3 separate regions of the Homo sapiens genome follow, and regions 1 and 2 are each linked to region 3. Evidence: promoter capture Hi-C in 16 types of primary human blood cells and fetal thymus (Javierre and others, 2016). All regions are on one chromosome and are shown on one strand. Each heading gives the region's core, a stretch centred on a gene start or on the middle of the fragment in contact. The rest is flanking DNA. Distances are from core to core; before and after follow the strand shown.

Evidence for each region. Contacts are between HindIII fragments. The CHiCAGO score rates a contact against its expected background, and 5 or more counts as called.
Region 1: a fragment that was not itself captured here is called in contact with the fragment with the promoter of ZDHHC1 in region 3 in 1 of 17 cell types (M0 macrophages); the score reaches 5.5 in M0 macrophages.
Region 2: a contact is called between the fragment with the promoter of CES4A here and the fragment with the promoter of ZDHHC1 in region 3, in 12 of 17 cell types (activated CD4 T cells, erythroblasts, neutrophils and 9 more). The highest score is 13.4, in activated CD4 T cells.

What each region holds. Positions count from the first base shown.
Region 1 is chr16:66,937,743-66,942,611 of GRCh38, reverse strand. It overlaps CES2 (carboxylesterase 2), which reads right to left. Exons shown (of 12, transcript NM_001365405.1): 2 at 4,371-4,575; 3 at 3,254-3,395; 4 at 2,257-2,390; 5 at 1,917-2,175; 6 at 1,390-1,488; 7 at 966-1,106; 8 at 764-844; 9 at 363-507. Among named protein-coding and RNA genes, the nearest start is that of CES2, 4.7 kb to the right of the region's middle. RefSeq lists enhancers at 296-1,495, 1,555-2,054. The HindIII fragment of the contact is 939 bases long and covers 3,146-4,084 here.
Region 2 is chr16:66,986,180-66,990,793 of GRCh38, reverse strand. It overlaps CES4A (carboxylesterase 4A), which reads right to left and starts at 2,205. Exons shown (of 14, transcript NM_001364782.1): 1 at 1,964-2,205. The coding sequence starts at 2,021. The HindIII fragment of the contact is 37,432 bases long and covers 1-4,614 here.
Region 3 is chr16:67,414,575-67,419,233 of GRCh38, reverse strand. It overlaps ZDHHC1 (zDHHC palmitoyltransferase 1), which reads left to right and starts at 2,757. Exons shown (of 12, transcript NM_001323627.2): 1 at 2,757-3,063. It overlaps LOC124903702 (a long non-coding RNA gene), which reads right to left and starts at 3,331. Exons shown (of 2, transcript XR_007065093.1): 1 at 3,091-3,331. RefSeq lists an enhancer at 2,211-2,868 and a silencer at 2,701-3,090. The HindIII fragment of the contact is 9,596 bases long and covers 1-4,659 here.

The DNA.
Region 1 (4,869 bases), core at 2,366-4,865, 480 kb after region 3:
CCCCTGAAGACTTCTTGCCTCACCCATGGTGATAAGATACCTAGGTCCAAAGCTGGCTGGAATCTGGACAATGGGGTGTGGAGCCCCAGGCTGGGGCAGGAATAGAGGAAAGGACTTGCGATTCTTTGCTGTGTCATCTTGGGCAAGTCACTGAAGGTCCCTAACTTCAATTTGCTCGTCTGTGAAATGGGGGAAATGTCGGATTCTTGGGCTAGCCATGAGGATTTACTGCAATGATGGATGTCAAGTGTCCCCGGAGCCCAATAAACATGAGTGCTGACCCGGACAGCAGCAGGTCTCACCTGGGACCCACAGCCCTGAGCTGTACCCTGCCCGCCAGGCTTTGGTCCAAATATACTCACACTGAAAATGTGCTACTTGGAGTGCAGGGATCACAAACATGGAGTCCGCCATCATCTCCTGGAACTGCGCTTGGAGGGTCTGGGGATCCCCATTGTCCCCAATGTACTCCTCCCTCAGCAGGTCACCAAATGTAGGAGGCAACATCTACCCCAGGTGGATCAGGAAGAGGCAGGTTAGACTGGATGCCAGGGGCAGGGAGGAGGTGGTCTCGGGCTTGGGGATGGCACAGGAAGGGGGAGCAAAGGCGAGGCTCTGAGGTGACCCCACCCCTAAACACACACACCCAGGCCTTTGCTCATGGGGGTCACTACATAGGAAGGGTATCTGGGGGTTGAATTTCCTCTGTCTCAGGACAGGAGAGGAGCCCGTCTCCATTGGCGAGGGACCCCAGGAGCCTTACCAGCAGCGTTAACATTTTCTGCAGAGCAGCCTGGGAGGCCTCTCTGTCCATTTCCTTCTGGGTATCATAGATCCTCATGACCTGGATGGCCAGGAGAGAGTCTGTAGCTGGGGATGGGATGAGCCTGGAGCTATGAAGCCCTGAACACCCCCCACTACCAGATGGGCTCCCCAGGCACTTGTGGGCTTGGGTTGGGGCTCACCTTGGGGATGAGCCAGCCGAATTCATTGTTGTTGACACCAACAATGCTAGGGACAGGCTGAAAGTCGGCAGAGGCCAGCAGCTCCTGGGGGTGCCTGGGCAGGAAGACCCCATCCACCACTCCGGGGATCATCTTGAAAGGCTGAGGGGAAATGTAAGGTCAGGGAACAAGGTCAGGTCCCAGACATCTTCCGATGCCCTCTGAGTACCTTCCACTCCTTCCCAGTTTATCCCTGGATGCTCATACCCACCCCAGGAGATTACTGTTTGGCTCAGCATGCACCGACCTTCAGTCCCGACCCAGGGCTATGACACTCAGGCATGCAGATGAGGTAATGTGCCCAGGGAATATGACGGCCGTGCAGGCCTGCCAGCCCCATGCCTATTGCACCCCTTCCTCTACACCCACATCCATTTAGACCAACCTTGTTAATTGCAAGAATCTCCTCTTTACTCTTGCCCCGCAGGCAGCCCACCAGGGCCTCAGAGTCAACTTGGTCACAGGCAGACAGGTTGGCCACCACCTGTAAAGGGACCAGGCAGGGGCTGGCTCATCCTTCCAGGTAGAGGAGAGGAGTTTGCCCAAGGCCCTGGCCAAGAACAGGGGTACCCCAAATCTCAGAGGGTACTTCGTATGAGTTCCTGCAGTTCTGACACTGTTCCAACTCAGAAGTCCCAGACACAGGGGCCATCCCATCCGCCTAGATGATTCTCCTCATGGTGGGGATCCCTAGGGTGACAACTTTGCACAGGAGCCACAGAACAAGCTCGGCCTCTGCAATGGCAGAAGGATGTGAATTCTGACCCTGGAGCCCCCCAGCAATTCCACGGTAGGCAGCAGCTCCTGGAGCATGCTCCCGATGGCCCTTGTCATCCCCGTTTAACAGACAGAGGCTCTGAGGGATATGAGGGGAGGGAGCAGGCCTAGGCCTCTTCAGCTGAGGGCACTCACCGTGGAGATGACATCAGCTGAGCTGGCAATGAGGCCGGGCAGGAGGGCCACGCCACTCTCCATGATGGCTCCGTGGAAGAGTCCTTGGGATATGGGGGACACAACAAGCGAAGACACACTCGTGCCACCCGCAGACTCGCCAAAAATGGTGACACGGTCAGGGTTGCCTCCAAAGTGGGCGATATTCTGCTGGACCCAGCGTAGTGCAGCCACTTGGTCCAGGTAGCCCCAGTTGCCGGTTGCGTGCTTGTCTCCAGTGCTGAGAAGTAGCAGGGACAGGGATCACAGGGCTGTCCTGGCCCCGCTCAGCCCGGGTTGCCCAGCCCAGCCCTAGTCTCACCTGAAGAAGCCCAGGACACCCAGGCGGTACTGGATGATGACCACCACCACGTTCTCCAAGGCAGCCAGCATGGAACCATCATACAAGGAAGCCATGCCAAAAACAAGCGCACCACCGTGGATCCACACCATCACCTGGGGAAATCAAGGCAGCTACCATGATGCTCCCACCCAGCCCAAACCCCACCAGGGCCACTACCTAGACCAACCAGTGCTTTGCCTCTGTCTACCTCCCCATTAGATCTCCAGCACAAATTCATTACATGGGCAAATGGTTAGGCACCCAAGATCTATCAGGAAGACCAGGCCTCCCAATCTTTGCAATCGAACCCCCTGTATCAAAGCCTGGGTTCATTAACCCCAGATAATTCACCAAAGTGGAAAGAAAAGGGGTGTCTCCCTGATGGCTCCACATGAACATTAACCAAAAATGTCCTTAGCCTGAACCACATAGTGAGACCCCGTTTCAACAGAAAATGTTTTAAAAATGAGCCAGGCATGGTGGAATAGGCCAGTAGTCCCAGCTACTCGGGAGGCTAATCTGAGAGGATCATCCCGGATTTCGAGGTTACAGAGAGGTATGTTCATGCCACTGCATTTTAGCCTGGGCAACAGAGCATGATGCCATCTCTAAGAAAAAAAGTTTTTGTGTGTGCCCATTCTATAGGCCCAACAGATTATCCATGGCTGGGGTTCTTGGTCACCTCAAGGTGCAGCCCTTTGGCACTTAAGTGGATCTCCTGGCATGAGTTGGCTGAGTGAGTCCTGGGTCCAGCCCAGAGCCACAGCCTTTGACCTCTGGGAGCAGCCAGAACTCTGTGACCCCATGTCCAGGGGCCAGCTGCCCAGTCTGGGTAAGGAGCATTTCTTGGACCTGACAGTGAGAAGCTTCTCAGCATGGTCCACTCTGAAGCAGGGCCTGAGCTAATATTGTCCTTTTCAGCTTCTTGCAGAAGAACTGTCCTCCAACCCCCAGTGAACTGTGGCCTGACACCCACCGGCAGGTTAGAGCCTTCATGGCTATGGGCCGGCGTGTAGATGCTGAGGTACAGGCAGTCCTCAGACATGGAGTCGGAAGGGAAGGTCATGTTGAACTGGCTAAGAAACTCTGACTCCACTGCGGTGAGGTCCTGTAGACACCTGGTAACCAGGGCAAATAATCAGTCCAGGGGCCAGGCTGTGGCCAAAACCAGACCCTGGGTTCAGAGGTGCTCCCAGCCACCCTCAGACCCTTCCCACAATATCCTGCTCACACATGATCCCTCTCAAAAATCCCTTCCCACCAAGTTACAGGCCACAGGCTCTGGGGAAGCTGGGATGCAGCTTGGACTTCCAGGGAGGCCTCGAGGTTACTGAGGACCTTGGGTATCATTCCTCGCACTGCCGGAAACCTTGACTCTTAGGGGTTTCTATGAGAACCATTGGCTGCATGTGTTGACATTCACCACTATATTCCTGTAACCCGTAAGGCCTGGGACAGGGGAGTAGCCCACATATGTGTGCTACATGAGTGAATGGATGTTAATTTCTCATGAGAAGGGCAGTGGGATGTCTCTCATCCCAAGTCTAAACTCTCAAAAACTCATCATTCCTACATGGCCTCCAGTTGGAAACATATACATATACATATACATGTCTCTTGGCCAATGGCTCCTGGTCCTGTCAGTGGACACAGTGCCTGTGGAGAGTGCAGGTCCCCAGAAAGCTACCACTACTGTTCTCTTCAGGTATTTGCAACATCTGCCACTAGAGTTAGGGGCTCCTACAAGGTTCATAGAGCCAACCCGAACCTTTCCCAGAGACACCTGCCACTGGTGGCAGAGAAAGCTTGGCATAACCAGAATCTGGGGAGATACGTGTGTCTGCCCCTCCCTTCGGCACCTGGAGCCAATGTCTTCTGAATGCCAAGCCCTGATCCAGGAGTCTGAGAAGTTATTCTGCCCTCCTGAGCCTCAGCATGCTCATTGGAAAAATGCACGTGGGAATCCACGAAACTCAGAAGGAAAACTGGCTGTGGGGGTTTAGATGAAATGATAACTGCAGCCTAGCTGAGCTCAGAGCACCCCCACCCCTGCCCCAGGGCCTGGAGTTCCCTGGACCCCTTGGAGAGCTTACATGGCCGGATGGGTGGTTCCATCCCTCACACCACTCCAAGATTCAGGGGGCTCAGGGGGTGCAAATCGCAGCGGACCTAGAGGTGGCTTGGCAAATGGAATTCCCAGGAAGGTTTGGACCCCGGCATTGGCGCCCTTCACATGGACAAGACTCCCCAGCACCTGCCCCGTGTGTGTGGTCCGGATGGGACTGGCTGAGTCCTGGCCTGTGGGCAGAGAGACAGACATCACGGTTGGGTTTGACCAATCGACTGCCCTCCCAACTGTTGGTATTGCTGCTTCCTTGCCATCCTCATCTTAGCTCAAGGGACTCTGATCTGTAAACATGGGCTTTACAAACTTCCTGCCTGTAACACTCCCTTCCCGCTCTGGCTTCCTGGGCCTGTCTCCATCCCACCAGGCTGAGGCTCCTTGGGGCCAGGCATCATCATTCAGCCCTAGGACCTTCAAACAAAGGGTCACATGCCCTTGATGGGACTAGAGTGTCCTTCAACTGTGTG
Region 2 (4,614 bases), core at 956-3,455, 430 kb after region 3:
AAATTAAAAAAAAAAAGAAAAACCCCAGAATATAAAATTGTGTTTATTCATTCATTCTTTCTTTTCTTTTCTTTCCCTTATTTTTTTCTTTTTTTGAGACAAGGTCTCCCTCTGTTGCCCAGGCTGGAAGGCAGTGGCATGATCATAGCTCACTACAGCCTCCACCTCCCAAACTCAAGTGAGCCTCTCACTTCAGCCTCTCGAGCAGTTGGGACTGCAGGCATGCACCACACCATGCTTGGCTAATTTTTAAATTTTTTGTTCAGATGGGCTCTAGTTATGTTGCCCAGGCTGGTCTTGAACTCCTGAGCTTAAGCAATCCTCCCACATCAGACTCCCAAAATGCTGGGATTATAGACATGAGCCACCCCATTTGGCTTAAAATTGTGTACATTCTAATAGTACAGCTATAGATAAATACACAATGAAAAGGTGAAAAGAGGTTGGGCATGGTGGCTCATGCCTGCGGTCCCAGCACTTTGGGAGGCCGAGGCAGGTGGATCATCTCAGGTCAGAATTTCGAGACCTGCCTGGCCAGCATGGCGAAACCCCATCTCCACTAAAAAAATACAAAAATTAGCTGGGCTTGTGGTGTACGCCTGTAGTCCCAGCTACTTGGGAGGCTGAGGTGGGGAGAATTGCTTGAACCCGGGAGGTGGAGGTTGCGGTGAGCGGAGATGGCACCATTGCACACCAGTCTGGGTGACAGGGCGAGACTCCGTCTCAAAAAAAAAAAAAAAAAAAAAGAAAAGATGAAAAGAAAATGCGCCAAAATGTTAAAAGCGGAGTAAGCAAAGTTTCCTTCAAATTTAAAATAATGGATATATGTATATATGGGCAAAATTTATTTATGATAGAGGTCAGACTAGTGGTAACTTTGAGTATTGACTGAGAAGGAGTACATGGGACGCTGGAGATGGTTTTTTGTTTTTTTTTTTGAGATAGAGTTTCGCTCTTGTTGCCCAGGCTGGAGTGCAATGGCACGATCTCGGCTCACTACAACCTCTGCCTCCTGGCTTCAAGCGATTCTCCTGCCTCAGCCTCCTGAGTAGCTGGGATTACAGGCATGTGCCACCATGCCTGGCTAGTTTTGTATTTTTAGTAGAGACGGGGTAATAATATTGGTTAGGCTGGTCTCAAACTCCTGACCTCAGGTGATCTGCCCGCTTCGGCCTCCCAAAGTGCTGGGATTACAGGTGTATCCTTGTAAGTTAAAAAAACTTTTTAAAAAATGTTTTTTAAAAATAGAGACAGAGTCTATTTACCCAGGCTAGGTCTCACTATTTGCCCAGGCTGGTCTCAAACTCCTGGGCTCAAGTAATCCTCCCACCTCAGCCTCTCAAAGTGCTGGAATTACAGGCATGAGCTACCATGCCTAACCCACTGGAAATGTTCTAGATGTTGATCTGGATAATGGTTACCATATATATATATATAATAATTAGTATAATAGATATAATTATACAGTGAAGATGTGTGCACCTTGCTGTATACATCTTATACCTCAGTAAACTTTTGTTAATGTATTAGATTGTTTTCACAGTAAAAAGTGTAGTACTCATTTTAAAAAGAAAGATATTGGGGAGAAATTTGAAGGTGGTAAAGAGGTTCATGTAGCAGAGAGGGGGCAGAGACAGGCCTCCTGCTTAGGAGAAGGAAAGAAGGATGGAAGGAAGGAAAAAGGTGGGAAGGAAGAAAAGATGTGGCCATGTTCTCAGACCCCTTCACCTGTGCCGGGAGGCAGGAAATACAGAGAAGCCCTGAGGTTCAGGGAGGCTAAAGGACTTGTCCAGACTCCCAGCTGGTAGATGGTTTAGTGTCCTGAAACCCTACCCTCCATTTGCCCAGGCCTTGTCTAAGTGCTCCTGCCCTGCTGTCCCCAGGAGAGGTTGAACTGGGGCCTGTCCCTCCATCCCTTGTGCCCGTCTTGCCTGACACTCTCGGGAAGGGGTGGGGGTCTTACCCAAGGCCGTCTGCGCCATCAGGCAGAGGGTGAGGCTCCAGCACAGAATCCACCTCATGCTCCAGCCAGCTCCTGCTGTGGGCAGGAGTGATGGCAACACTGTGGATGGCAACACTGTGGATGGCATGGTAGCCGTGTCTACAGTGTGTGAGCACACTTTTATCTGCTCTTAATCCCTGCCAGCAAGTACTGGGGCGGGAGGAATTGTAACCAGCTTCTGACCAGCCCACAGCCTTGTCTCTGCCTTGGGCAACAGGTCACGCTAGATGATCTTGGCTCTTCAAACTGATCAGCCTGCAATCTCCGCCCCGTTTGCTCATCTGTGCAGTGGCTTAAAGCTGAACATGTGTGAGTCAAGGTCTAAGCATACAGTGGGTGCCAAGATTGAAGTAGAACACCTGGTTACTTGGCCCTTCAGCCAGGGCTTCCTGTCTGTGGATTTAAGGGTCTTGGGCCTCCCTGCTCCCCAGTGCCTCGTCTAGCCTCTTCCCTGCCTTTCCTCGCACATGCTGACCCTTGGCTGTCCTCACAGTTTCATAGTCCACATGCGGAAGCTGGACCTGAAAGCAACCGTAATGTGGGAGCCCAGAGGGGCACCCGAGGAGTGAGCCCAGAGCCGGGTGGTGGGAATGAAGATTCCCTGGAAAAGATCTAATCTTCTAAGTAAAGGATGAGGAGGAGTGGGCCAGGCAAAGAAAGATCCTGTTTGAAGTTTGGAGCCACAGGAGCAAGTGTGGGAGGTGGAAGCAAGGAGACAGCAGTCCCATCTTCAGTCAAAGGTAAGATGGGGCTGGGTGTGGTGGCTCATGCCTGTAATACCAGCACTTTGGAAGGCTGAGGCAGGTGGATCACCTGAGGTCAGGAGTTCGAGACCAGCCTGGCCAACATGGTGAAACCCCGTCTCTACTAAAACAAAGAATACAAAAATTAGCTGGGCGTGGTAGTGTGTGCCTGTAGTCCCAGCTACTCAGGAGGCTGAGGCAGGAGGATGGCTTGAACCTGGGAGGCGGAGGTTGTAGTGAGCCGAGATCGGGCCACTGCACTCCAGCCTGGGTGACAGAGTGAGACCCTGTCTCAAAAATAAATAGGCCAGGCACGGTGGCTCATGCCTGTAATCCCAACACTTTGGGAGGCTGAGGCAGGCGGGTCACGAGGTCAGAAGATCGAGACCATCCTGGCTAACACCCCGTCCCTACTAAAAATACAAAAAATTATCCGGGCGTGGTGGCACGCGCCCGTAGTTCCAGCTACTCAGGAGGCTGAGGCAAGAGAATTGCTTGAAACCAGGAGGCGGAGCTTGCAGTGAGCCAAGATGGCGTCACTGTACTCCAGCCTGGGCGACAGAGTGAGACTCCATCTCAAAGAACAAAAAAAAGGTAAGATGTTTCCTCTCTCGTGTACCCCCAAAGTCTGGGGTCCTGGCCCATCTTTGTGAAAAGAGGGTCTGTTGGGCTTCTGTGCTGGGGAGGGGAAAAGGCAGGGGAACAGAGAACTTCTCCCTTGGCCCACAGCCTCTTGCTCTATAGGCCTGACAGATGGTTAAACCTCCTTCTTTCACAGTCAATTTTCTGAGTTCTTCGGAGATGCTCTTTATTTGGGACTCCTCTCCCACAGTTCCCATCCTTGTGACCCTTCCTCAGTCCCAAGGAATGTGGCATTCACTGCCCAATCATTGCTGCCTGGGCTCTGTGCTCCTCTAATGAAGGCCCAAGATGACCCCCCACCCCTGCCTCTGCCACTTATCCTGTGGGGTCTACATGGGCAAACCTCCAATATCCCTTGCCCCACCTCAGCAGAGGTGTGGCCCATCCCATTGCAGCCCCTTCTGCCCCACTCACGATGGCGGGGTGGAGTCAGGCTCTGGCTGGCTGAGCCTCCTATGGTGGAAAGCACCACTCATCTTCCCCATGGTCTCATGCCCACAGGCTTGAGGGGAAAGAAGTGGGGTGAGAACTCACAGCGAGGTAACAGGTCTCTACAAAGAAAATCTCTCCCCTAACTCCTCCCCAGCATAACGTGTTAACTTGTGGTGGCTCACGCCTGTAATCTCAGCACTTTAGGAGGCCAAGGCAGGAGGACCGCTTAAGGCCAGGAGTTCAAGGCCAGCCTGGACAACATAGTGAGACCCTGTCTTTACAAAAAATTAAAAAGTCAGCCAGATGTGCTGGTACATGCCTGCAGACCCAGCTACTTGGGAGGCTGAGGCAGCAGGATCAATTGAGCCCAGGCGGTCAAGACAGAGTAAGACTCTGTCTCTAACCAAAATACCCCGAAACAAAAAACAAAAAACAAGACCCACTTTTATTATTTATTTATTTTTTTGAGACAGAGTCTCACTCTGTCGCCCAGGCTGGAGTACAGTGGCGCCACCTCAGCTCACTGCAAGCTCTGCCTCCCAGTTTCAAGCAATTCTCTTGCCTCAGCCTCCTGAGTAGCTGGGACTACGGGCGCATGCCACCACGCCCAGATAATTTTTTGTATTTTTAGTAGAGACAGGGTTTCATCATGTTAGCCAGGATGGTCTCAATCTTCTGACCTCGTGATCCGCCTGCCTCGGCCTCCCAAAGTGTTGGGATTACAGGCAACAGCCACTGTGCCTGGCCTATTTATTTATTTTTGAGACAGGGTCTCACTCTGTTGCCCAGGCTGGA
Region 3 (4,659 bases), core at 1,508-4,007:
TAATTTTTATTTGTATTTGCATTTATTTATTTATTTAAAGACAGAGTCTTGTTCTGTCGCCTGTAAGGAGTGCAATGGCACAATCTCGGCTCACTGCAACCTCTGCCTCCTGGGTTCAAGCGATCCTCCCATCTCAGCCTCCCGAGTAGCTGGGATTACAGGCGCAGACCACCATGCCCGGCCAATTTTTGTATTTTTGGTAGAGACAGGGTTTCGTCATGTTGCCCAGGCTGGTCTCAAACTCCTGACCTCTAGTGATCTGCCTGCCTCGGCCTCCCAAAGTGCTCAGATTACAGGTGTGAGCCACCATGCCCAGTCCCACCTTGTTTTTTAAAATATTTATTTATTTATTATTATTTTTTAAAGAGATAAAATCTGACCGGGCACAGTGGCTCATGCCTGCAATCCCATGGTGGCAGGCAACTGTAATCCCAGCTACTCGGGAGGTTGAGGCAGGGGAATCGCCTGAACCCGGGAGGTGGAAGCTGCAGTCAACTGAGATCGCACCACTGCACTCCAGCCTGGGAGACAGAGCGAGACTCCGTCTCAAAAAAAAAAAAAAAAGAGAGAGAGAGAGAGATAAGATTTTTTTTGTGTGTGACAGAGTCTCACTCTGTCACTCAGGCTGGAGTAGAGTGGTGCGATCTCGGGTCACTGCAACCTCTGCCTCCTGGGTTCAAGCCATTCTCTTGCCTCAGCCTCCCGAGTAGCTGGGACTACAGGCACATGCCATCACGCCTGGCTTACTTTGTACTTTTAGTGGAGATGGGGTTTCACCGTGTTAGCCAGGATGGTCTCGATCTCCTGACCTCATGATCCACCTGCCTTGGCCTCCCAAAGTGTTGGGATTACAGGTGTGAGCCACTGAGACCAGCTGAGAGATAAGATCTTACTTTCACCCAGGCTGGAGTGCAGTGGCATGATCGTAATTCACTGCAATCTTGAACTCCCGAACTCAAGTGATTCTTTTCTCCTGCCCCAGCCTCGTGAGTAGCTGGGACTATAGGCACAGGCCACCAGGCCCAGCTATTTTTTTTCATCTTTTGTAGAGATGGGAGTCTCTCTATGTATCCCAGGCTGGTCTCAAACTCCTGGCTTCAAGTGATTTTCCTGCCTCAGCCTCCTTAAAGTGCTGGGATTACAGGTGTGAGCCACTGCATCCAGCCTCATCCTTCACCTTGATTTCTGGGTCATGATCTCTGTTTGACCCGAAGTTTTCCAATTCCAGATAAGAGTTAAGTAGTCAGCTTGTACTCTGAAGCCAGAATAGCATTGATATTTATCTCACATTGAGTTTGAGTTTATCAGTCTTGAAAACAAGAATTTAAGTAATAGGTTATGTCACTTGCACAAGGACCCACACACCTGTCATGTGACAGAGAAGGAGTAGTTATGTTGCCTAATAAAACATACAATAAGTATGCTTGTGACTTATACATTTTAGAGATAAGGATGTTTTCTTTCCCTATCTGTCATATCTGCCTTGGAGATGCGCACAGGACAGATAGCAGAAGACAAAGTGTCTTCCTGTCTTTTGAGAAAGCCTGAGCTCATAGAAGATTCCATTCTGAGTGTCCACAAGGAGAAGAGGAGAGGGGACTTTTAGGGAAACCAAGTTAGCAGGGAAGTCTCCCAGGTAGAGAAAGGGAAGGGAGGCTGCAGGCCATGGAGCAGAGGAAGCAGGTGTCTGTCCCTGGCAGCCCCAGGGAGAGGCAGGGGCCTCAGGCAGGGATGGCCTCATAGAGCCCAAACCTGAAAATCTTTGTGGACTGGAGCAATGGTTGTGGCCTCAGTACCAGACAAAACCCTGACCAGAGAGTTTTTTGCTTATTTGTTTTTGATTGTTGTTTTTTGCTATAGGAAAACATGAGTCCTTTGGAATTACCTAGCTAAAAGGAGTACAGTGGAGACTGAGACTGAATTTCCCGGCCGGGCAGGGGCTCACGCCTGTAATCCTAGCACTTTTGGAGGCTGAGGTGGGCGGGTCGCTTGAGTTCAGGAGTTCGAAACCAGCCTGGGCAACATGGCAAAACCACGCCTCTACAAAAAAATGCGAAAATTAGTCGGGCGTGGTGGTGTTCGCCTGTAGTCCTAGCTACTCTGGAGGCTGAGGCGGGAGGATCGCCTGAGCCCAGGAGTTCGAGGCTGCAGAGAGCCGTGATCGTGCCACTGCACTCCAGCCTGGGTAACAGAGACCAGTTTAAAAAATAGAAAAAGACTGAATTTCCCATCAGCCTGGAAGATTGGGGCTTGATTTTTGCTTGATTTAAAGGCAATAAATAAATGAGATATTTTGTGCTGCTTATTTTAAGCTCTTACGCTTCTCGCTTTATATTCTGGGGTACCTGCATTTTTAGTGGTGTAATTTATTTGTCTAGATCTGTTTGCCTCTTAACCTGTAAGCTCCCGGAAGGGTCGGGATATCATGGATGTTCCAGCACATACGCTCATTGAAGTGTGCAGGTTGACTGGGGTTGGGGGAGGTCTCTTCTTGAGAGCGGTGGTCTCAGGATAGAAACTGGAAGGGGGCGCTTTTGAGATGTTAGGATTTCGGGGAGACAAGCTGTGACTCGGGAGTAGGGAAAAGCGGATTTTCTAGACGAAAGGTTAGGAAGAATCTGGGAATGGGCCGACTGGGGCACCAAGAGGGTCCCTGGCAAGCCCCGCCCTGGCCGGGGGACCGGCGCGGAGTGACGCAGCGCGGTTTGGCCGCTGTGGGGCGCCGTAGCCCGCGCCGTTGTCAGGGGAACGGGCCCAGCGCCGGACGAGGCCCAGCCAGTCTGGGTCTGGCCTGGCCGCCCCTCCAGCCTGCTGGAGCCGGAGCCGGAGCCGGAGCCGGAGCCGGAGCCGGAGCCAGAGCCAGAGCTCGAGGACTCACCGGCCCAGTCTCCGTCCGGGATGGGGCCCCGCTCCCGGGCGCGTTGCCGCCCAGTCCCGGGGACCGTCCCTACCGCGAGGGTCTGAGGCGCGGCTGCCCCGGGGAGGGTGGAAGGCCAGGCGTGGGGCCCGAACCTCTGGCTGACTTTGGCAGGGCCCATCTGGCACGGCCTCCGCGGCGCGCAGGTGAGGAGTCCCCGCCCGGTTTCTCACCTCGGAGCCTGGCTTGAGCCACGGGGTAGCGGATGCTGCCGCCTGGCCGGCTTTGGGCTCGCTTCCGCCTGGAGCCGGTGGCCTGAGTTCCAGGGCCCCGGCAGAGCGCGGGGCTTCCTTTTAGCATGCATCAAGTTCACAGATCTTCCTTGAGCGCTTACTCTTTGCCAGGCTCTGTGCCAGGCGTGGGCACAGAGGACTCCCAACAGACGTGGTCTGTCTCCAGAACCCAGAGCATTAAGGAAGGGGGCTGGGAAGCGGATGTCATACATGACTAAAGTGATTTCAGGTCGGGTTAGGCTCTCTGGTATTGAAATGGAGGGGTTGGTCATGGAGGGTCTGTTTTAAAAGGAAACCATGGGAAGAGTTTTAGTTTTTTCTTTGAGACGGAGTTTCGCTCTTGTCACCCAGGCTGGATGGAGCGCAGTGGCACGACTCGGGTCATTGCAACCTCCGCCTCCCGGGTTCAAGCCATTCTGCTGCCTCAGCCTCTGGAGTAGCTGGGATTACAGGCGCCCGCCGCCACGCCCGGCTAAGTTTTATATTTTTAGTAGGGACGGGGTTTCACCATGTTGGCCAGGCTGTTCTCGAACTCCTGACCTCAGGTGATCCACCCGCCTCGGCCTCCGAAAGCGTTGGGATTACAGGTGTGAGCCACCGTTCCCAGCCAATTTTTTATTTTTTTGAGACAAGGTCTCCCTTTGTCACCCAGGCTGGAGTGCTGTGGTGTGAACATGGGTCACCGCAGGCTCCGGCTCCCGGGCTCAAGCGATCCTCCCGCCTCAGCCTCCCAAGTAGCTGAGACTACAGATACCCGCCACCACGCTCAGCTAATTTTTTAAGGTTTTGGTAGAGATGAGGTCTTACTATTTTGCCCAGGCTGGTCTCGAGCTCCTGGTCTCAAGGGATCCTCTTGCCTCAGCCTCCCAAAGTGCTGGGATTACAGGTGTGAGCCACTGCAAGCGGCAGAAGAGTTTTTTATTTTTTGTTTATTTTTATTTTTATTTTCCAGATGGAGTCTCGCTCTGTCACCCAGGCTGGACTGCAATGGCACAATCTCGGCTCACTGCAACCTCCACCTCCCGGGTTCAAGCGATTCTCCTGCCTCAGCCCCCCAAGTCTGGGATTACAGGCGCCTGCCACCACACCCAGCTAATTTTTGTATTTTTAGTAGAAACGGGGTTTCAACATGTTGGCCAGGCTGGTCTTGAACTCCTGACCTCAGGTGATCCAGCCACCTTGGCCTCCCAAAGAAGAGTTTGGATGAGTTTCACGTTTGAAAAGCTCACTTCACTCTGGCTGCTGAGCAGCATGGTTGTGACAGACATACCGGGAAGTCAGTTGAGGGCCATCCTAGTTCTGCCAATCTAGCTGTGCCTCCTAAAATAACTCATTTAGTGTCTCTGAGCCTCAGTGTCCTCATGATGGGAGTGGGTGTTCTGTATGTTTTTTATGAGGAAGTGAGAGGCCAGTCACATCTGAAATCAGTGACTACAGGGATCTACAAGAACAGTTGGAAATGATAGGACCTTCCTTAGAGCTCTATGAGGATTGAATGAGTGAATTCCA